Linked DNA regions of Homo sapiens: regions 1, 2, 3 and 5 are each linked to region 4. Evidence: promoter capture Hi-C in human tissues and cell types (Jung and others, 2019). All regions are on one chromosome and are shown on one strand. Each heading gives the region's core, a stretch centred on a gene start or on the middle of the fragment in contact. The rest is flanking DNA. Distances are from core to core; before and after follow the strand shown.

The links. Contacts are between HindIII fragments. The study calls those that stand out against the background at their distance.
Region 1: a contact is called between a fragment that was not itself captured here and the fragment with the promoter of CYYR1 in region 4, in 2 of the 25 tissues and cell types used here (H1 embryonic stem cells and mesendoderm cells).
Region 2: a contact is called between a fragment that was not itself captured here and the fragment with the promoter of CYYR1 in region 4, in 2 of the 25 tissues and cell types used here (H1 embryonic stem cells and aorta).
Region 3: a contact is called between a fragment that was not itself captured here and the fragment with the promoter of CYYR1 in region 4, in 2 of the 25 tissues and cell types used here (aorta and dorsolateral prefrontal cortex).
Region 5: a contact is called between a fragment that was not itself captured here and the fragment with the promoter of CYYR1 in region 4, in 3 of the 25 tissues and cell types used here (dorsolateral prefrontal cortex, mesendoderm cells and spleen).

Annotation. Positions count from the first base shown.
Region 1 is chr21:26,485,656-26,488,446 of GRCh38, forward strand. All of the region lies in intron 2 of CYYR1 (cysteine and tyrosine rich 1), which reads right to left. All of the region lies in intron 1 of CYYR1-AS1 (CYYR1 antisense RNA 1), which reads left to right. Among named protein-coding and RNA genes, the nearest start is that of CYYR1-AS1, 81 kb to the left of the region's middle. The HindIII fragment of the contact is 7,460 bases long and covers 1-2,791 here.
Region 2 is chr21:26,651,987-26,654,864 of GRCh38, forward strand. No RefSeq gene overlaps it. Among named protein-coding and RNA genes, the nearest start is that of CYYR1, 80 kb to the left of the region's middle. The HindIII fragment of the contact is 3,126 bases long and covers 1-2,875 here.
Region 3 is chr21:26,693,727-26,696,603 of GRCh38, forward strand. No RefSeq gene overlaps it. Among named protein-coding and RNA genes, the nearest start is that of CYYR1, 120 kb to the left of the region's middle. The HindIII fragment of the contact is 5,627 bases long and covers 1-2,877 here.
Region 4 is chr21:26,571,929-26,574,628 of GRCh38, forward strand. It overlaps CYYR1 (cysteine and tyrosine rich 1), which reads right to left and starts at 1,358. Exons shown (of 4, transcript NM_001320768.2): 1 at 940-1,358. The coding sequence starts at 1,012. The HindIII fragment of the contact is 7,865 bases long and covers 1-2,700 here.
Region 5 is chr21:26,446,986-26,449,685 of GRCh38, forward strand. All of the region lies in intron 1 of CYYR1-AS1 (CYYR1 antisense RNA 1), which reads left to right. Among named protein-coding and RNA genes, the nearest start is that of CYYR1-AS1, 42 kb to the left of the region's middle. The HindIII fragment of the contact is 3,875 bases long and covers 1-2,700 here.

The DNA.
Region 1 (2,791 bases), core at 59-2,558, 86 kb before region 4:
TAGTTCATTCCTAGATGAGCAAGCAGTCCATGATATGGCTATAACACACTTTGTTTAACCATTATTTATTGTAGGGCATTTTGGTTTGACAAATAAAGTTGCTATAAACAATCATGTACAGATTTTTGTGTGGACATAAGTATTCATTTCTCTGCAATAAATGCCCAGAAGTGCAATTACTGGGATGTACGATAAATGTATGTTTGAGTTTTAAAGAAACTTCCAAGTTATTTACATTCCTACCAGCAAGGTATGAGAGATCCTCTCTGCGTCCTTGCCAGTATCTAGTTTTATAATCTGTTTTTTAGCTGTTTTAACGGATAAAGCATTAAGTGTAGTGGTATTTCATCATGGCCTTAATTTGCATTCCCGTAATGGCTAGCAAGGTTGAACATGTTTTCGAAAGCTTATTTGCCATTCATCTTCTTCAGTGAAATGTCCACCTGAGTCTTTTGCCCATATTCTAATTGGATTGCTTGGTTATTTTACTGTTGAGTTTTTGAGAATTATTTGAGTCCTTTACAAAATATGTAGTTTGCGAATATTTTTACTGGTCTGTAGCACATCTTTTCATTCTCCCAACAGGGTCGTTCACAGAACAAAAGTTTTTAAATAAAGTCCAATCTATCATTTTTTTTCTTTTATGGATTGTGCTTTGGGGTCATACGTGGGAACTTTTCATGAAGCCCTAGGTCCTGAAGACTTTCTCCTATGCTTCTTTCTAAAAGACTGATTATTTTACATTTGATATTTAAACCTATGATCTATTTTTGTTTAATTTCTGTACGAGGTATTAGATTTAGGTTGAGGTTCATTATTACCAGATTATTTTGCCTGTGGATAGCCAGCTACTTCAGTACCATTTATTAAAAGCATTCCTCATCCCCCCATCGCATTGCTTTTGCACCTTTGTCAAAAATCAGTTGGCCTGTGCAGGACTGTTTCTAGGTTCTAATTTAGCTAATTTTTTTTTCTTTTTTTGCAAAATGAGATTTTATAATCAAGATATTAAATGTATCTATGGTGGCTGAAATAATATGAAACTGTCTTTTATAACAAAGCTCAGAGATAATATATTTTATTCCATAAATCGCTTTTCATGAGTAAAAAAAGATTCTGATAATGTTGCCATGTTGCAGTAACACTTTTAGGCTTAGCACTGCTATACAGCAGCTTACTAGTTATCTTGATGTGGTTTTACTATTAATATTAAATAATATTTAAGGAAAATAGCAGATATGAAAAGTACGCCAGAGTAATATTTATCTTCTTCTCGGATACGACCCAATTTACAAATGCATTTTATAAAACTATAAATCAAAGGGCTTATGAATATTCTATGTAATAATTTAGTAACAGCAGTCCCAATAAAGTAGAAAAATTAAAAAGGCCATGCGGATATTTGATATCTATATTTGATACCACACGGATATTTTACACCTATACAAAAAGTGGGGAAAATTCTAGAATATTTTTGTTAGGATAAACTTCCATATGGAAATAAGAGTTTGAAATAAAATACCTTTACCTTTGAAATAAGTCAAAGGTAAAAGTATCAGAAGAGAGAGTTCTCTGGAAAAAGTAACCATAGCTTCAAAAGAATAAACTTAAAGTAGGTTTATTTCTTATTAAAATAAAAAAATTATAAGTGAAGCTAAAGCATTTTTATCTTTTGTTAAAGAAGGTAATATTTAGTCGACTTATTTATTTGTGATGATACACATGAGATGAATTAAGCAATGATAAAAATCCTATTCCTACTACAGCGCTGAAAGTCGACTACATACATGAGAATAAATCTTGGCAAAATTCTATATCAGATCATCCTACTTCCTCAATAATTCATTCTTTTGGCCAATTCATTAAAATACTGTAATACCCTTGAATACAATGTTTTATTATAAATCATTGGCAATTTTAGTAACACTTTGACTTGCTTAACTTAAAAATAATGCATTTTCTTCTCTGTTGCTTAAATAAATACAGAAAATAATAGAAAAACAAACTCAATGGAGTATCATTTTCAATATTAACAGTATTTACTTATATTAATCGTAGGATCTCAGAACTATCTCTATTTCTATTTTTATCTCTATGAGTCTGGTTACATGTACATCTATGTATACGTGTATCAGATAAGAAAACCATAATATCGAATAGTTAAATTGTTATTAAATATTGTTACTACTCCAAGTGTAAAATGCTTAGGAGGGTAGGAAGACCAATCCATGTAATTTTTCCAGTAAGTCTACATTACTTGCAAAAAAAAAAAAAAATCTGTAAAATCCAAATATGCTAATAATGTTTTTTTATTTTGCTTTTTTTTTTTCTTTCATTCTGGTGACTCCCCTTAATAACTTCACTCAATATATCCTCTTTCTTGGGGCTTTATAGATAACTTCTTTCTGTTAGCCTCATGATAATAAAACTGGAAACTAATATCTCTTTGAATGAATAAATTTACGTGATTTATTGACTCAAGCCCCATGACAGAGACAATTGTGTAACCCAATATTCATTTTCTACATTTTCCTTGATAAAAGAAGTCTGAGGGTTGACTAAAATAAAGACTACATCTTCCCCTACTTCCTTCCTTCCTTCCTTCCTTCCTTCCTTCCTTCCTTCCTTCCAGACAAGGTCTAACTGCGTCACCCAGGCTGGAGTGCAGTGGCTCACTGAAGTCTCAACCTCTGGGCTCAAGTGATTCTCCCACCTCAGCCTCCCTAGTAGCTGGCACTATGGGCACACGTCACCATTACCAGCTAATTTTGTAATTTTTGTAGAGACAGGA
Region 2 (2,878 bases), core at 63-2,562, 80 kb after region 4:
AGTCATACTGGAGTAGGGTGGGCCCCTAATCCAAGATGACTGTTGCCTTTACAAAAAGGAGAAATTTGGACAAAGACATACACACAGGAAGAATGCCATGGGAAGATGAAGGCAGAGATGGAGATGATACAGCTACAAACCAAGGAATGTCAGGTTGCCTGCAAACCACCAGAAGCTAAGGCAGAGGCAAGGAACAGATTTCCCCTCACAGTCCTCAGAAGAACCAACCTGGCTGACCCTTCATCTTGGACTTCTGACCTCCAGAGCTGTTAGGCCATAAATTTCCGTTGTTTAAGCCTCCAAGTTTGTGGTATAGAATATGTTTGATATGACAGTTTAATATGGCAGCCTCAGGAAATTAATATATATGCAAAAAACCCCAAACAAAATCTCCCAAACAAAAAAACAAAACTGTCATTTGAAAAAGTGATCAGAAACAAATAAATTCATTAGCAGAGCATGCTAGGATTAGGTAAAGCACGAGTAGAACAAATAAGTATGTTAAGAGAGATAGTGACTAAAAAAAGGCTACAGTGGATGAAAAACTTTTTAAGAAATCCTTATTTTTAAAAACTAGGTGTTAAGGTTGCATGATAAAAGCAGTTTAAATTACCTTTGCTTGGCATGGTTTTTTGAATAAAGAGAGCTGTTAAAATATGGCATTGAGATATAAAGGGCATCACTTGAGCAAAAATGTGAAGCACAGAAATATAGTTTATTATTAATTGGGTTTTACTATTAGTATCTTGCATTTTTCTGGCTCAAAGACAGCAAGATACTACATTTCAAAAGGTTTAAACTTAGCTCAAAATAGCTTTAAATTGTAGCAAGAGGAGCTGTGTAATTCAAATTTTCTCTTTGTACTTGTCTCATCTTTAAGACTAATGGAATTGATTGGTGAATTATTATTAAAACATCCTTCAAGTTTGAGGCATTTCCCAGCGAGTTATTCAGAATGCTGATTGTTTTCCTTTTACCAGCTTTCATTTGTACTTTATGGGTCAGTGACTAAAATGTAGGATGCTCTCTAAGTCAGAGTGACTTCAATATAAAAGATGTTAGGGAAGCAAAATTGCATGCCAAGCAAATCTTTATCTTAATTAGCTGCTAGAACATGAAGAGTTTGCTTCTGTGCCTAAAACATATTACAGCTGCCTACTTATGTGAAGCCTTTATTGCACCACCCAACACAGATTTTTTTCCCCATAATCACTGAGATTTGAAATTTTAAAGGAGAAAAATAAATTCTTTTCTTGGATGCAGTATATTCTGCCGAAGAGTGAAGAAGCACGAACATTTCCAGTAGAACAAGATTTTCCTGCTTTTAAAAATACTACATTAAAGCTGAAAATTTAGGCCAAAATTTTCAAGTGGTAATAGTTACAGGCAATTCATCTTTCTGGTCAGAAAAGGGTGTTACTGCAGCTATTTCTGCCTGAAACTGGGTGGCACTACTACTTTTTTTTTTTTTTTTTTAACTGAGCAGACATTTTCCTTACACTAAAATTGAGAAAAAGAGAAATTTCTAAATTTCCATTGAACAGTTCCTTGCACATCATTTTAACTCTGTGAGACAGTGTCACATCGAAACGACACACTACATCACGAAGCTTTTCTAAATGACGGAGGTGGCTTGCAGCTGCTGACCTCACTTCTCTTGGACTTGGCAGCAATCCACACTGCCTTGATCATGGCAGTGAAAATAAGATAGTATTCAGTATTATTTGTCCAAATCTGGCGTATCATTGCTTGTGGATACATGAATGATCTTGGGACTTGAAAACATTGCTGATGGAAACTCAAACAAGATAAAGGGCTAATGACATTGATAGGAAACATAAGAAGAAAGTTATTCCATGACTTCATAAGAGTTGTCAGAATTTATTATGCATGTAACTACAGGGGAAGTGCAAAGAGAAGTTGTTTCAGAAATTGATGTAAGGGTAGGACAATACATTGTGCAAGTTGACTCTCAATGAGACTATTTGTAGCATCCCACTTTTGGAATGCCATATTCTAGAGCTCAAATTGGACTGAAAGATCTGTCCTGGTGTGCCTGCCCTGTTGTTTCACATGGTTACGATTTTCAGGTGTAGTGATTGTGTGGATTATTTTCTATTTAATCCTTCTAGACCCACTTTTTACCCATTCCCATCCTGCTTTATGTCCCAGCATGCTGCTACATCATGGATTTCTTATCCTCTGGATTCTGGAGCAGAAGATGGAAGAGTGAGATTAAGATTGACAGTTGACCCTTGAACAACACAGATTTGAAGGGTGCAGGTCTCTGTCCACTTATATGTGGATATTTTTCTTTTTGTATATATTTTTTATTATACTTTAAGTTCTAGGGTACACGTGCACAACGTGCAGTTTTGTTACATATGTATACATGTGCCATGTTGGTTTGCTGCACCCATTAACTCGTCATTTATATTAGGTATATCTCCTAATGCTATCCCTCCCCCCTCCCCCCACCCCACAACAGGCCCTGGTGTGTGATGTTCCCTTTCCTGTGTCCAAGTGTTCTCATTGTTCAATTCTCACCTATGAGTGAGAACGTGCAGTGTTTGGTTTTTTGTCCTTGTGATAGTTTGCTGAGAATGATGGTTTCCAACTTCATCCATATCCCTACAAAGGACATGAACTCATTTTTTATGGCTGCATAGTATTCCATGGTGTATATGTGCCACATTTTCTTAATCCAGTCTATCATTGTTGGACATTGGGTTGGATCCAAGTCTTTGCTATTGTGAATAGTGCCACAGTAAACATACGTGTGCGTGTGTCTTTATAGCAGCATGATTTATAATCCTTTGGGTACATACCCAGTAATGGGATTGCTGGGTCAAATGGTATTTCTAGTTCTAGATCCCTG
Region 3 (2,877 bases), core at 296-2,795, 120 kb after region 4:
AACAAAAAAACACACAAAACTATGAAAGAGAGTTGCTAGTTAGAATCTTCGTGAGCAAGGGACTAAATATATTTCAGTGGAAGAAGTAGTATATCTTGTGATTTAGTGATTCTCACATTTTAAAATTGAGGTAACTACTTTCTGACATGAAACTATAAGTGCAAAATTTTGATATAGATACTTAGAATTTGCCTTAGTTGTGAAGTAGCCTGTAATGTAAAGCATTTCTCTGAGAAACAAAAGTGGATTTTTCCTCTTAGTCAGAGTTTCTTGAAACCCACATGTGAAAGATGCCTTGATATAAAACATGTATGTTTTAACTTTGGGCTCAGTTTTGCAGGAATGTATCTGAGATGGAAAACCAGATGGCTATATTTCAATGTATTTTCTCTTCCATTTTATGGAAAATGACCCATGATCTATTTTGGCTTACATGAGATTTACTCATAAATATATATGAGTATAATGCCTTGCAGCTCCTGTTTAATGCATTTATGAAAAATTTTTCACTTTCTGGGAAGCTTTTCATTCAGGGCAGCTGCCTGGAAACACTTATGATCTCTGAGGAGAAGCTTTGAACGTGCACAGGCATTTTTAAAAATGGTATGTTGTTAGGCAACTAAAAATCACAAGCTCAACATGGTAGCATTATCTTTTTGTCAGAGGTGTGAACTGGCTCTTCCATAATCAGGCTTTCAACACTTGGAAAGTTTTTTTCTGAGTACGTATTTCCTCATCTGTAAAATAGGCGGGTTCTGTTCTGATTTCATCAAGTTATGATAAAAGAAAAGCACAGTAGGTAGGTATGATAAAAGAAAAGCACAGTAGGTAAATAATCAATTATAGTGACATTTCTTCCTCTTCACTCCTTTTGCTACCCAAGTGACGTATCATACAGCAAGCTAACACTTGGTAGAATGCCAATTTAGTATGATACTGGTTTCCAGTTAATTTAGGACTATAAAAAGTGCTGGCAATGCCCAACTCAAACTTACGTTTGAATTGGCTTTTTAAATTGCTATATGTCATAAAGACCAGTTGATAGGCTGGGCATAGTGGCTCATACCTGTAATCCCAGCACTTTGAGAGGCCAAGGAGGGCGGATCAAAAGGTCAGGAGTTCAAGAGCAGCCTGGCCAACATGGTGAAATCCTGTCTCTACTAAAAATACAAATATCAGCCAGGCATGGTGGCACATACCTGTAATCTCAGCTACTTGGGAGGCTGAGGCAGGAGAATTGCTTGAACTCAGGAGGTGGAGGTTGCACTGAGCCGGGATCAAGCCACTGCACTCCAGCCTGGATGACAGAGCAAGACTCTGTCTTAAAAAAAAAAAAAAAAAAAAAAAAAAGAAACAGTTGACAAAAGAACCTAAAATTATAATTTAGAGTTCTTGAGATTATTTAACTGTAACTTATGGTAATTCAACTGGCCATAGTGACTATTCGTATGATGAAAGAGTATGTGATGAGCAACAATGAAATGAGATAGGTCCAACAGAGCTTTTCCAGGTGCAGATGCTCCCAGCCACGGACAGTCTGGCTGGTAGGCAAACATGGAATCCAGGGACTTCAAGCATCTCCACTCAGATCCATTTTGGAGGAGGCAAAATGAAGTACCAGATGTTTGGGGGCAGATAAGTTCCAAAGAAAATGATTACTGAGAGTCAGTTAACCAGGCTGTCAGCTTCTGCAAACTCTATCATAAGTCAGTTGACTCCAGACTGCAAACTGGTGCTTAGGAATACCAATGATTGCCTCTAAAGGCAGAAATTAAATGCTTTGTACTGGACATTGCCAACCTTAAGTTCCCTGGTGCACTTGGGTACCACCATCCGGATGCTCTGAGTGTGAGGTGCCAAAGTGCCCTTGTATTTTCTGTAGTTCTCAATGGTTAGATGTCACACTCGGTTCCCTGAAGAAAATGTCTCTCTCCCAGTCCTGTGGGCATCTTATCAATTTATCATCATCAAGATTCAGCCTCAAGTTTCTTCCCATCTAAGGGGCCTGTTTAGAGCCTCTAAGCTTTCTGCTTTCAGAAAGCTACATATTCACTAGAGAGAATGGGTATCTATTCTGAATTTTCTCTAGTATGACGAGATTACTGTCTTATATTGTTCTTCATTTCTTCCTAAGTGTCAGTCTTATCTCCCCAAGGAGATTGTAAGCGCCTTGGAGGCAGGGATCATGTTTTATATTCCTGGGGCCTCACATCCTTTGAATATACAATTGAGCAGATATTAAGAGATACTTAGTAATGGATTTATTGAACTTGAAATCTGAAACTGCTAATTCTAGAATTATTACCATACATTTGTGTATTTTTGGGGATTTTGCATAAAAATACTGTAGGTAGCTATATTCTTTTCACCTGCTCCCATAAACTATCAAAGTTTATGTCTCACGTATTTAGTTCTATCAGATATTGAGTTAATCACTTTTTTAGGAAGAAAGATTTTGGAGAAAGAAAGTTGGCTTCTTTACTCCATCTTCCTACTTTATATATTTGGAATTTTTCATTAGACATGACTAAAGAAGTAGAAGGAGAAACAAAGATCTAACTTTTAAATTATTCACTAGGCCTGCACAGGTTTGGTATGCAGATTAGCTCAACAGATAGAGGTAGATCAACATGGCAAATTAAAAATAATATCTAAGGTTTAATTCACACGTTGTATGACAGTCTCACTCTTCTATGTCAACCATGGACCTATACCTTAGAATTTATTGTCTCCGCTCTTCCAAATTCTGTTCCTTCCAAATCCTTGGCCAGACATCCAGGACATTGGCCACTGAATGGAAATCTGTACATATTATCACTTTGGGCTACTTCTCTTTCCACAAAAAGTGAATGCTTAAGTTCACTGCTCATAGCTCTG
Region 4 (2,700 bases), core at 108-2,607:
TTCTAGCAAGGTTGAATGAGAAATTCAATTCTTTTAATACTCAGGTGCAACACTGAAGAACATCATTTCAGTTGCAATATCTTTTTGAGTATCAAAGGTAAATTTCAGTGCTATATATACATTTCGTATTGGAGGCTCAGGGGTGAGCCTGCGATTTTTGTCATAGGACGTTAGAGACACAAAAACATTTTACAAAGAACTTTGCTTTTAGCTTGCATTGTTTTGTGAATATGAACTGATGCAAAGACCACGTGTGTAAGACACTTTATACCTGAATAACCAATGAAAGGCCATTTGGGGCTCCATATTAATCACAAACAAGAAAACCCACTTTGCTTCGTTAATTATTAGCAGTTCTTACTACGAATAATTAGAAGGGAAACCAGATGCCCTTCTCTTATAAACAAGTGTCTATCTAAATCAACGAACCTGTACAGATTAGACCCTGGGTGAATTCATGCTTCTCAAAAACCTTGTGTTTGACTTCAGTCCAATAGCTCAGTCTACCACACTTGTGAATCTCCCAAAGAACGAAAACAAAGCTCTAAGTTTTTTTTATTCACAAGAGGGAAAACCAGGACTATTTAGAAAGCAGAAGATGGAGAGGCCACTGCCTAGCCTATCCAGATAAGTTTATTTGGATATAGTTTACTCTATCCAGAGAGTCAAATCCCCTAAACACGAGACTGCTATTTCCAAGGTGGAAAGGGAAAGAAAAGAAATGCAAAAGGTAAAAGTTAAAGGAAAAGGAACAAAACAAAACCGCGTGCGGCTGGAAGTGCGCGGGTTTCTGCCGTCGCCTCGCGGAAAAGGCAGAAGCGTCTGCAAAGGTCCTTCTGCAAAGGTCCCGGTCCGTCCAGCTCAACCCACGTTAGCCCGGACCGTGACCCAAGGGCAGCCCCGAGCCTCTGACCCTCTCCGCCGCCCTCCGTCACTGACCTGCGTAGACAAAGAGCAGGACCAACTTCGGAAGCAAGACCCCTGGACGCACGGGTAGCCTCGGAGCGTCCATCCAAGCCGGTGGCCTGAGGCTTGGAGCGAAGGGAGAGCCCGGAACCGGAGGGAATGGGGAGGATGGAGGGCGATCAGATGGAGAGAGCAGCGCTCCTGAGAGCCGGGTGGAGCAGAGACCCGGCCATTGCCTAGGGAGCCTTCCAAGGGAGCCCGGGCCGGGCGCGTCCCGGGCCAGCGACTGCGGGACTCCGCGGAGCTGGGGCGCCCGTGGCCCGAGACGGGCTGCGCTGGGGGCCCAGGTCTCTTTGTCTCGCCCCACTGCGCTCAGGCGCGGGGAAGGCGGCCACTCCGGCGTCCTTGGCCACCCAGGCTCACATTTCATCTCCGCGGGTGGCAACGACTGCGGGCAGGGGGCGGGGGTGGCCCCGACTCCTCCCCAAGCCCGGGTTCTTCCTTCTAAAGAGTGACTAGGGGACCAAGAAACTTTTCCTAACCCCTTGCTTTGGCGATTGCTATGGAGTTCAGCCTGCTCCTTTTTAACCTTGCCTCCACTACAATTTTTCCTTTCTAAGCAATGGATGAACAACTTTGCTTTTTATCTTTAAACAAAGGGAAGGAATTTTCAGGGTTGAAGGTATTCGACAAAGAGTGACAGTGAAGAAAACTCAGGATTGGGAAGTACAGAAAGTGTATGGCATCTCTGCTGAAAGCTGATAAAATGTTTATTATTTTTTCCTGTAAATTCAGAAAAAAAAAACACAACAGTGCACACTGTCGTTATGATTTTGACGTTTTGGAGTTACTGGCCTATGCAATTAAACAAGAGAAAGAAAAAGATTTATGAAAAATGAAAGCTAAATTGTCATTAGCAAATGAAATACGTGTATACATGGAAAATCAAAGTTAATCAACTATAAAGCTCTTGTTTAGCAAACCAATAGTTTTCTTTCCTGCAAACAAAAATCAGAAAGTTCTCAATGTTATGCATGAAGGAAAAAAAATGATACGAATAAGTAAAGAGATACTTTTTTCACTAAGAAAATTTAGTAGGATAAAGACAACAAGATTCCCCAAATTATTATATACATTTGGAAATAAAATTGATCCCAATTTTTAAAATAACATGATTTTTTTCAAACCAATCTGATTCTAAAGTTTATATGGAAAATAAATATGTAAGAATATCTATTTAAAACAAGAGTAATGAATGGGAATAATGAATGGGATATTACATATAATATCACAATAATTAAAACAGTTTAGATTAACATTGGAATAGATAGGCTTAGTGAAAGAGAAAAGGTAACCCAAAAGTAGACATGAGTATGTACAGCAATTTAATTTATGGTTTAAAGAAATATCAATGTAAAGTAGTAGGGGAAATGATGAGTTACTCAGTGAAAAGTGTTGAGGCCGTAAATAGCCATCTGTGGAGCCTTATCTTTTTACATCAAAATCAGTTCTATATGAATTACATATTTAAGATACAACTATGAAAATATTAGATTAAAAAATAAGAGGATAACATTCAAATAATTGTGGAATAGGGAAGCCTTTTCTAAGCATTATAAAAAACTCAGAAACCATAAAACAAAATATTGACCAACTTGACTAAATAAGAATTAATACTTCCAGTTGGCAGACATTTAACTGGCAAAAATATTTGCAATGCAAAGTCCTAATCTCATTATTATACTGAGCTTAAAAAAATCAATAGGAAAAACAACCAAGAGATAACTGAGGAAG
Region 5 (2,700 bases), core at 16-2,515, 130 kb before region 4:
AAACTGTTACTGATGCTGAAATTCTAGCACAGATTCAAATTTTCATACATTTCTGATTCTAGAAAGCGACTCATTTTGAAAATATTTACTCCATGGACTGACATTTCTTAGTAGTTGCTAGTAGGATTTTTTTTTATTGTCGTAAAATATGCATAACAAAAAATGTACCATTTTAATCGTTTTTAAGTATGTGAATTCAGTAGTATTAAGTCTATTCACATTGTTGTGCAAATTAACGGGCTTTGGTTGGAGAAAATTGTGGTAGAAATTTTCAAATTTTGGTCATGTTGAAAGTTGCTGGTTTATACTTTTTTTTTTACTTATGTCCTGATATATCAAAAAATGTATGACTGATTTCTTTTTGTAAACTTGCCTTCTGCTGATGCCTTGTCATGAAAACTAGTGATGATTATTACATCTGGAATTCTACACCTGTGGAAATGGCTAAAAAATTCTAGGAGCAAACATAATTTAAAATGGCCATTTTTTTAACTCATTATTTTGAGACGTGCCAATTTGTGAAGTATCTGGACATGCATTGTTGGTATTGTGAATAACTTGGACAAAACCAAATTGTGCAAAAGTCTTTCTCCTAAGCACGAAGAATGTTGGGTTGATCCACAACGGAGTTAGCCTTGGATAAGCTCGTCACAAAGTACTGTCCAACTTCAGATTGTACCACTGACAAATTGATGACAATTAATAAGAATAGGATGGGTCTTTTGACATAATCCTTAGAAAAAAATATATCTTTGGACCTTTTACTCAGGTGTCTGCTCATGCAGACACCGTTTTTCTTTTTAAAATTCACTATTCCTTAAAATACACCCTGAAAAAATACCTAGTTTCCAATAGCTATTTCTAATGAATACTAAATACTAGAATACTGAATTCTAGGACATTAAAACATTTCCTCTCAAGAAGCATTTGAGCCTTCCTCTTTTTAGTATAGATGGAAGCTTCTCTCTAATGGTGCCACATTGCACATTTGCAAACCTATGTTTCAGCAATGTCACATCTGTGATTGTTGGTACACACACCACACACACACACACATTCAAATCGCTGAAGTGGATTCAAAGAACCAATGGCCTTTAGGTCAAGGTTTCTAAAGCATCTTGTCCCAGGAATTTTAAGCATCTTGTCTCAGGAATTTTACATGTGAAAAAATTTACTCATCTCACACGTTCATGTTAGCAGTCTAATCTTCTAAGACCTCTGCAGGAAATAACTTACTACTATGTTTTGTGAACGTGAAGACTTTCTGAAAGAATCCATGCATGGCATTTTTGACTTTGCAAATAGAACATAATTCTTCAATGGCATGTCTGAACTAATCTGAGGATGTTAGCCTGAGGTTTCCTGTGTTTTATCAAGAGCAAAAAGAATATAGTTCACATTATGACAAGCATAGATATTAGCAGTGTCCAAGTTATTTTTGTGTTGTGTCCTCTTGGATTAGAATATTTATTCTGGTCATTGAAATATCAATAAATTCAGTCAAGAAAAATAATTAGAAGAATTTATTGTAACTGTATATATAATGCTTAAGGCAGTGTTTGTCAGCTTGACCCTATTGACATTTTGGGCCAGATTATTTTTTATTGTGGGAGCTGTCGGATCTTTAGCAGGATTCTCATGTCTACCGGCTAGACGCTGATATTTTCTCCCCAAGTTGAGACAACCAGAAATGCCCCCTGGACATCGCCAAACATCCTTTGGAAAGCAAAACACACACATTTTAGAATCACTAGCTTAAAGGAATATACACTGAGAAACATTGACTTAAGGCATGCTTTCTAGTCTCAGTATCAGCTGCAAAAATCGATGACGTACCCTGGGAATGAGGGGCTGTACCCCTGTTGAAATATGAGAATAATTTCTTACCATTTACCAGTTAGGTGCTATACTCAGTCCTCCAGATTCTTCTCCTACTCTACCCTGGCTCCTCCCCAGGGACCATTTTCCACCTCCCAACTATGCAGAAACTCCAGGACTAAGTCTGACGTGGCAAGGGGCCTCCAGAGTCTGTTAAACTTTCTATTACATTTTATCGTCTTACTCTGTATTAATTTTATTATTTATATTAACTCATTTTACTATCACCTTTTCAGACAAGCTAGAAGAACCTGTATTTATTGTGCCTCTCTATTCACAGTGGAGTCCTTGAGCAGAAAGTCAGATTACTCCCTTTTAGTTTGTTGTCTTTAATAGACAAATGAGAGTTGTTTCCCTGTTCCACACATCATCCCTCTTCTAAAATGACTGAGCATTCCTTACCACTGAACACATGTTGAAACATATCTGGCTTGCGTTTCCTTTTTAGAAGGGCTTGTTGTGAGAATCAATGGAAAAGTACCCAGAGAGAAATTGCTACACAAACTTACAATGTAAAAATAGCTCCAGCGGAGAGGATAACAAAAGCTTTGTCAAATTGCACATAATAGAGTCAATGATAGGCAGACGGTGCTTGGAACTGGTCCTCCTGATACTTCAGTCGTTCATTGGCAGGCTGCTCATGCTCCTTCACAGATTTAGAGATACTGAGGAATTTACTGCACAGTACCGTAGATCACAGCCTAAATCCTTATTTGTGGGGTTATGAGCATTTAAATATTTTCTTGTGGGTTCCGTGGATTTCACAGAATTCTGTTTTGTTTCAATCTGAAAAAAATCCTCCTCTGCTTATGCCTGTCATTA